Regions from separate parts of the Homo sapiens genome. Here region 1 is linked to region 2. Evidence: promoter capture Hi-C in 16 types of primary human blood cells and fetal thymus (Javierre and others, 2016). All regions are on one chromosome and are shown on one strand. The core of a region is centred on a gene start or on the middle of the fragment in contact, and the rest is flanking DNA. Distances in the headings are between cores, read along the strand shown. Region 1 has its middle 35 kb from the start of TNFRSF9. Region 2 holds the start of PER3 (period circadian regulator 3).

What was found. The method cuts DNA at HindIII sites, captures the fragments that hold promoters and counts their contacts. A CHiCAGO score of 5 or more calls a contact.
Region 1: a contact is called between a fragment that was not itself captured here and the fragment with the promoter of PER3 in region 2, in 1 of 17 cell types (megakaryocytes). The highest score is 5.2, in megakaryocytes.

What each region holds. Positions count from the first base shown.
Region 1 is chr1:7,904,560-7,907,827 of GRCh38, reverse strand. It overlaps a transcript of UTS2 not described here. Among named protein-coding and RNA genes, the nearest start is that of TNFRSF9, 35 kb to the left of the region's middle. The HindIII fragment of the contact is 4,813 bases long and covers 1-3,268 here.
Region 2 is chr1:7,782,938-7,786,608 of GRCh38, reverse strand. PER3 (period circadian regulator 3) reads right to left here and starts at 2,318. Exons shown (of 22, transcript NM_001377275.1): 1 at 2,233-2,318; 2 at 1,604-1,955; 3 at 1,023-1,168. The coding sequence starts at 1,731. RefSeq lists a silencer at 2,243-2,852. The HindIII fragment of the contact is 8,097 bases long and covers 1-3,671 here.

The DNA of each region.
Region 1 (3,268 bases), core at 425-2,924, 120 kb before region 2:
AAAACTTAGTATTCCGGAAGGAATGATAATTGTGTATTTCTTTTCCTCCTACTCTGAGTTTGGAGTTGTTGAAATAGGGGCCTAAGGGAGTCTAAAAAACAAAAAATCTCTGACATAATGCTCAGAAGCTCACTGTCAGTTAGTTATTTACATTTTGTTGTGGTCGCTAATTTTTTTTTTTTTTTTAGAGACATGGTCTGGCTCTGTTGCTTAGGCTGGAGTGCAGTGGTGTGATCATAGCTCACTGCAGCCTTGAACTCCTGGGTTCCTACTTCAGCCTCCTGAGTAGCTACGACTTCTAATTTTTAAATTTTTTTAAATTTAAAAAAATGTTTAAATTTTTTTGTAAAGATGAAGTCTTGCTATGATGCCCTGCTGCTCTCAAACTCCTTGTGTTCAGAAATCCTCCCGCCTCAGCCTCCCAAAGTGCTGGGATTGCAGGCCTGAGTCATTGTACCTGGCATAACCTGATTTCTTGACACCTAAGGACAGTCAGACTGCTTCCACTCACACTCTTTCACTTTTTAAATCTACTAGTTTATAAGATCAACCACTCACAATTTTTTGTTTTTGTTTTGAGACAGTCTCTCGTCACCCAGGCTGGAGTGCAGTGACACGATCTCAGCTCATTGCAGTCTCCACCTCCCAGGTTCAAGCAATTCTCTCGCCTCAGCCTCTGAAGTAGCGGGGATTACAAGCGCGCACCACCACACCTGGCTAATTTTTTTGTATTTTTGGTAGAGATGGGGTCTTACTATGTTGCCCAGGCTCCCAACCTCAAACTCCCAACCTCAGGTGATCCTCCCCCCTTGGTCTCCCAAAGTGCTGGGATTACAGGCGTGAGCCACTGCGTGCAGCCCATACTCTTTCAATAATTATTTTAGCTTCAGTGGCAAAGGCTAATAATGATCGTATGTGTCTCTCTGATTGCAATGATGGGATGTTTATAGATACCAGGCACATACTCTCCTTGATCACAGCTTCACTAGAGACTCTTTGGCTAAGTTAACTGGTGTTCAATATTTTGAATTCGCATCCTGGACCTTCCTCCTACTGCCCGTGTTCGTGGTGTTGCTGTTGGGTTGGTACCGGCATCCATATTGGTGTTCTCACTGTTGGTGTTGGGTTAGTACTGGTGTTGATATTGGCATTCATGGTGCTGATATCTCTCTATAGTTTTCTGTCCAGCCTGTACTCAAGACAGGAAGTTTGAAGAGTTTCTGTGTGCAAGTATGAATTTCAAGGGGGTAGTAGGGAGTAAAGTCAAGAAAAAAAATCTGGAATGATCTTAGAAGTTTCCCCTCCCTCCCTCCCTCTTTTCTTTCTTTCTTTCTTTCTTTCTTTCTTTCTTTCTTTCTTTCTTTCTTTCTTTCTTTCTCTTTTTCTTTCTTTCTTTCTTCCTTTCTTTCTTTTCTTTCTTTCTTTCTTGCTGTGCTATAAAGTGAGATAAACAGTTAAGACGTTCACCAGTTCCTGTGGCAGAGGCTCTGGCTGTATGGACGAAGGAAAGGTGTGTGCCTTGATTCAAATGCAAGTGAAACCAGCATCTTTGCAGGAACATGGAAAGGAATGTTTAGAAAAATTGATTCCCATTTCAATATTTAGTATAATTTACTCCACTTATCATGAAATGCTTCTTCACAAATTTTATGAAAACAGGAGCTGCCCCTATTAAGAACCCCATGCACCTCATGCAATTCTATGGGTGTTGAAAGAAGTACTTGCTGGCCAAGTGAAAGCCTCAAGACTGAAAGGCAACATTATATTACAGCAGCAGTTGGTTCCTCAAAACAAGATGCTCACCTGGAAAGAATTCCGTGTGTTCCCGACCCCCACCCACCCACTGGCTGTGAAGGAGCCCTTCAGGCCCCCGTGTGCCCAGCAAGACAAGCCCCCCAGACACCCCTCACCCGGCAAGACACTGCCCCACTTCATCACTACGAAATGTCCAAGAAGAGAGCTAAATGTAAAACCAATCACCCACCTTTCCCTAGGAAACCGTCAGCCCAACCTCAACAAACCCTACATTCCTGCTGACCTTGAAACCACCAGAAAATAAGAAACAATTCACCAAGGAAGAAATACAACTTGTCCTTAAATACTGAAGAAAGATGTTCATTTCATCCAGGGAAGAGCTGATGTTGCAGTATTAAGCCTGGAGGCCATCTAGAAGCAGAATTCCCCTCTTCCTTGGAACACTGCAGTCTTTTTCTCTTGAGGCCTTCAACATATTGGAAGAGGCCTACCTGCACTGTGGAGGGCCATCTGCTTTATTCAAAGTTTACTGATTTATTAGGCCGGTGCAAAAGTAATTGCAGTTTTTGCCACAGTTTTAATGGCAAAAACCGCAATTACTTTTGCACCAACCTAATACATGTTAATTACGGCCTGGCACGGCGTCACGCCTATAATCCCAGCACTTTGGGAGGCCGAGGCAGGGGCATCACCTGAGGTCGGGAGTTCAAGACCAGCCTGACCAACATGGAGAAACCCCGTGTCTACTAAAAATACAAAATTAGACGGGCGTGGTGACATATGCCTGTAATCCCAGCTACTCGCAGGAGGCTGAGGCAGGAGAATTGCTTGAACCTGGGAGGTGGAGGGTACAGTGAGCCAAGATCGCGCCATTACACTCCAGCCTGGGCAACAAGAGCGAACTCTGTCTCAAAAAAAAAAAAAAGAAAAAAGAAATGTTAATCACACATAAAAAAAAGATACCCTCACAGCAACATCTGGATTGATGTTTGACCAAAAACTGTGTACTATAGCCTAGCCAAGGTGACAGGTGAAATTAACCATCGCAGAGGTATTTAGCTGTGTTGGCAATGTTTATTTTCTAAGCTGGGCAGTGGATATGCATGTATTCACTAAATTATCCTTTAAGTCCCCTTTCTATGTGGGCTTTTTTTTTTTTTTTTTTTTTTGAGACAGAGTCTCACTCTGTCACCCAAGCTGGAGTCCAGTGGCACGATCTAGGCTTACTCTAACCTCTGCCTCCCGGGTTCAAGCGATTCTCCTGCCTCAGTCTTCCAATTAGCTGGGTTTACAGGCGCCACCACCACGCCCGGCTAATTTTTATATTTTTAGTAGAGACAGGGTTTCACCATGTTGGCCAGGCTGGTCTTGAACTCATGACCTCAGGTGATCTGCCTGCCTCATCCTCCCAAAGTGCTGGGATTATAGGCGTGAGCCACTGCTCCCAGCCCCTTTTCCATGTCTTAATAACACATAAATATTGCATAACACGTAACTATTTAAGTAATAAACA
Region 2 (3,671 bases), core at 1,069-3,568:
TTTTTCTCAAAAACAGATCATTTTCTGCTTTTACCTAAAATACTGATAGTTGTGCAAACTTAAGATTTGATTTTATGAATTCTGCATGTTCTGGATCACAGGAAGCAAGATACATTTAAGGTACTAACTAAAAATTTCAGATGCATACACAATTTTTTTGCGGGGGGAGCAGAAACAGTACTCTGTCATTCAGGAACATATCATATATGAAGCACTGAGGTTTGTGCTAAAGAGAATATGGCTTTAATGAAATCCCTGGAAATGTCAGAGAGAAAAAGTGTTTACAATGGTTCATTTTTAGTTTGGTAAATTCCTGATATATCATTACTGCATTTTTATCATTATTATTTTTTAGAGACAGAGTCTCGCTCTGTCACCCAGGCGGGAGTGCAGTGGCGTGATCTCGGCTCACTGCAAGCTCCGCCTCCCGGGTTCACGCCGTTCTCCTGTCTCAGCCTCCCGAATAGCTGGACTACAGGCGCCCGCCACCACACCCGGCTAATTTTTTGTATTTTTAGTAGAGACGGGGTTTCACCGTATTAGCCAGGATGGTCTCGATCTCCTGACCTCGTGATCTGCCCGCCTCGGCCTCCCAAAGTGCTGGGATTACAGGCGTGAGGCACCGCGCCCAGCCTCATTACTGCATTTTGAAAGTATGTGTACGGCATGTAAAGGTAACTATTTCGTGGAATGCATTTTTTTCCCATAACTTCCATAGAAGACAATATTTCTTTAAAAGGTCAGCCTTCAAAATGTGCTTATGCTAAACTCTACTCTCTTGCAACACATGAGCAAAACATTGCATAGGTATTATACACTATTATACAGATAAAGTTTTCCTGGTCTTTCACATGTGAACAATTAAGACACGAATGGAATCGGTGTAGATTTGCTCATCTTCCACAAAGCACCAGAAAAAGCTCAAATTATTTGTCTGACTGAGACCCCACTGACCACTCCTCTGGCTGCTTGTATGAGTCCTGGTGCATTCGTAGGATGAAATTTCTCTCCGGCTTGTTTACCTTGAACGCTGTGGACACAGCGGAGAGCATAGTTGAGGGCATCTAGAGTGCTTGGTTTATTGCGTCTCTCCGAGGGGAAGTATTTTTTCATTTCTTGGACAACCATGATAAGTTCTTCAGAAACTCTGTTTCGATCTTGCTGTTCACTGGAAGATAAAAAAAAATTACAACTTCATCCTCTGAAGACAACAGCATCTTGCGGCTTAGGGAACACAAACTGCAAGCCAGGTAAGTTTCTAAGTGCTCTACCGGCATCAGTCCACAGGGTGGTGACCCCTCTTCCTCTAGGTGGGGAACTCGAGGCAAAGCAACTGGTGAATGACAAACATTCTCCACTTACTTTCCCTTAATCCACTTGAGCCCCAACTCAGCTAACTTTTGTAACCACTTTTCCCTCCTGATACTCTTCGGTAATTTTCTTCAGTGTCACGGATCACTTCATCCTACATTGCCCGAGTCTCCCCTTTACACTTTCCCCTGGGCTTGAAAACAAAAGAATAAAAAGATTTAGGTCCCCCTTTCCCTGCTCCAGGGAAGGACAACGAACGCATGGGGCCCTCGGCCTGAAGCCAGCGCGTCACCTGTGGCTGCTGTCCGCCAATTTCCTCTGCAGATGGAACTCGGGGCTCCACCGCTCCCCCGATTCTTCGCCCAGGGCCTCGTCCTTAGCCCCCCGTCTCCCGGGGCCAGGAGCTTCCCCGCGGGGCATCTCGAGGTCTCCGCGGGGCTCCACGTCGTGCTGGGACGGCCCGCAGCCTGCTTCTCGCTCACTTTGCAGTCAGTGACAGACACCGGTTTCTCACTCCGGTCCCCGCCATGGCGTTAGTGAGAACAGGCGGCCACCACGAGCCAGGGGGTCACGCTCATCTCCGAGGAGCTTTTCCCTCCAACATTTTCAAAACCCGGAGCTCGCTCGACTTTCAGGACTCCGGCCTAGGGGGAGGAGACAAGGGTGACAAGGGACAAATGGAACAGACAGTCCGACGCCAGCGGCCCGGCTGGCTGGGGCGCCCCGACCGCGCGGTCCTCACCCCTGCCCCAACTTTCCCGCGCGCCGAGGGATGGGGCCCGGGGAGGCGGGTGGCTCGGAAGCGCCACGCTCCGGGGGCCCCCAGTACCGAGGGCAGGGCTCGCGGGGCTCCTCTGCCGCGCGCGAGTGCCCAGAACTCCCGCCCGGCCGCCCAGAACTCCCGCCCGGCCGCGCACTCACCTGCTGCCCCCGCCCTTGGCCCCGCGCACAGCCGCTCGCCCCCGGGGCCGCCCTCGCGCAGTCTCGAGGCTCGCCGCGTGCCGGTCAGCAGCCGGCGCCGCGCCCCCTGCCGCCGCGTGACCGGTCCCGCCCCCGGGCCGTGCGATTGGTCGTCGGGGCCGACTCCGCAGGCCTCCATTGGCCCTGGGGCGGGGCGCGAGCCGGTGCGCCCGGGTTATATAAGCCAGGGCGAGGGGGCGGGGCCCCCGGGGCGCGTTACATAACGCGCGGGCTCGGGCGGAGGCCGGCGCTCGGCCAATCCCAGCAGGCCGGCGGGCGGGCAGGGGACGGGGTGGCCCTCAGCGGCCTCAGGCCTGTGCCGCGCGACTGGAGTGTCCGGCCCCCTGGCACGGCGCCGGGGCGGAGCCGCTGAAGCCAGCGCAGAAATGATAGGGCCAGGAAGCTGCCAGCCACGTGGGGGCGGGACCCGGGCTCTGTGGGGCGGGGCGGGTCCGGCCCAACCTCCACGTGAGAGGCGGGCGGGGAAGGAGAGGGGAGTGAGAGGCGGGGGCAGAGAGGGGCGAGAGGCGGAGTCGGGGGGCTTGAGTCGGGGTCAGGGGGAGGCTGGAAATGGGGACGGATGGGGGCGAGAGGCGGGGACGGGGGGGCGGATGGGAGCGGGGGTGCCGAGAGACGTGGGGAGCGAGAGGCAGGGGCGGGGGGGCGACGGTGTCGAGGGCGGGGGCATTAGAGGGAGGGAGAGGCGGGGACTGGGGGCGAGCAGGGGCGGCTCAGGCCAGCGCTCTGGGGTCGAGTCCTGGAGTTTGTAGGTGGCTCCCGGCTGCCCGAGCGGGTGTGGGGAGGAGCCCAGGGTGGGGCGGGCTGCCGGCAGCGGTCCTCATCGTGCTTTGGCCGTCTTTCTGGGTTCCCACGGTTTTCACCGCCCGTGACCTACCGAGCCCACCCCAACCGCCCCCATCCTCCGCTAACTCTTTCGGTGAGTGGGGTGGACTTGGAGGAACCGGGCCATAAAGCAGCCCTGGTAAAAAGCCCACCCGATTTTTAGAAACAGATTTTTTATTTTTTGAGACAGGGTTTTGCTCTGTTGTCCAGGCTGGATGGAGTGCAGTGGCGCGATTTTGGCTCACTGCAACCTCCGTCTTCTGGGCTCAAGCCAGTTTCCTGCTTCAGCCTCCCGAGTAGCTGGAACTACAGGTGCAGCCACCACACCTGGCTAATTTTTGTGTTTTTGGTAAAGATGGTCTGTGTTAGCCAGGCTGTTCTCAAACTCCTAAGCCCCAGTGATCTGCTGGCCTCGGTCTCCCAAAATGTTGGGATTACTGGCGTGAGCCACTGCACCGGCCCAGAAACAGAATTTTGACGGTGGAACTTAAAACACTTCCCTGCACTTCCTAAAATTAGATTCATTTGGCAACTGGAGGAAGACAAACGTAAAAGAC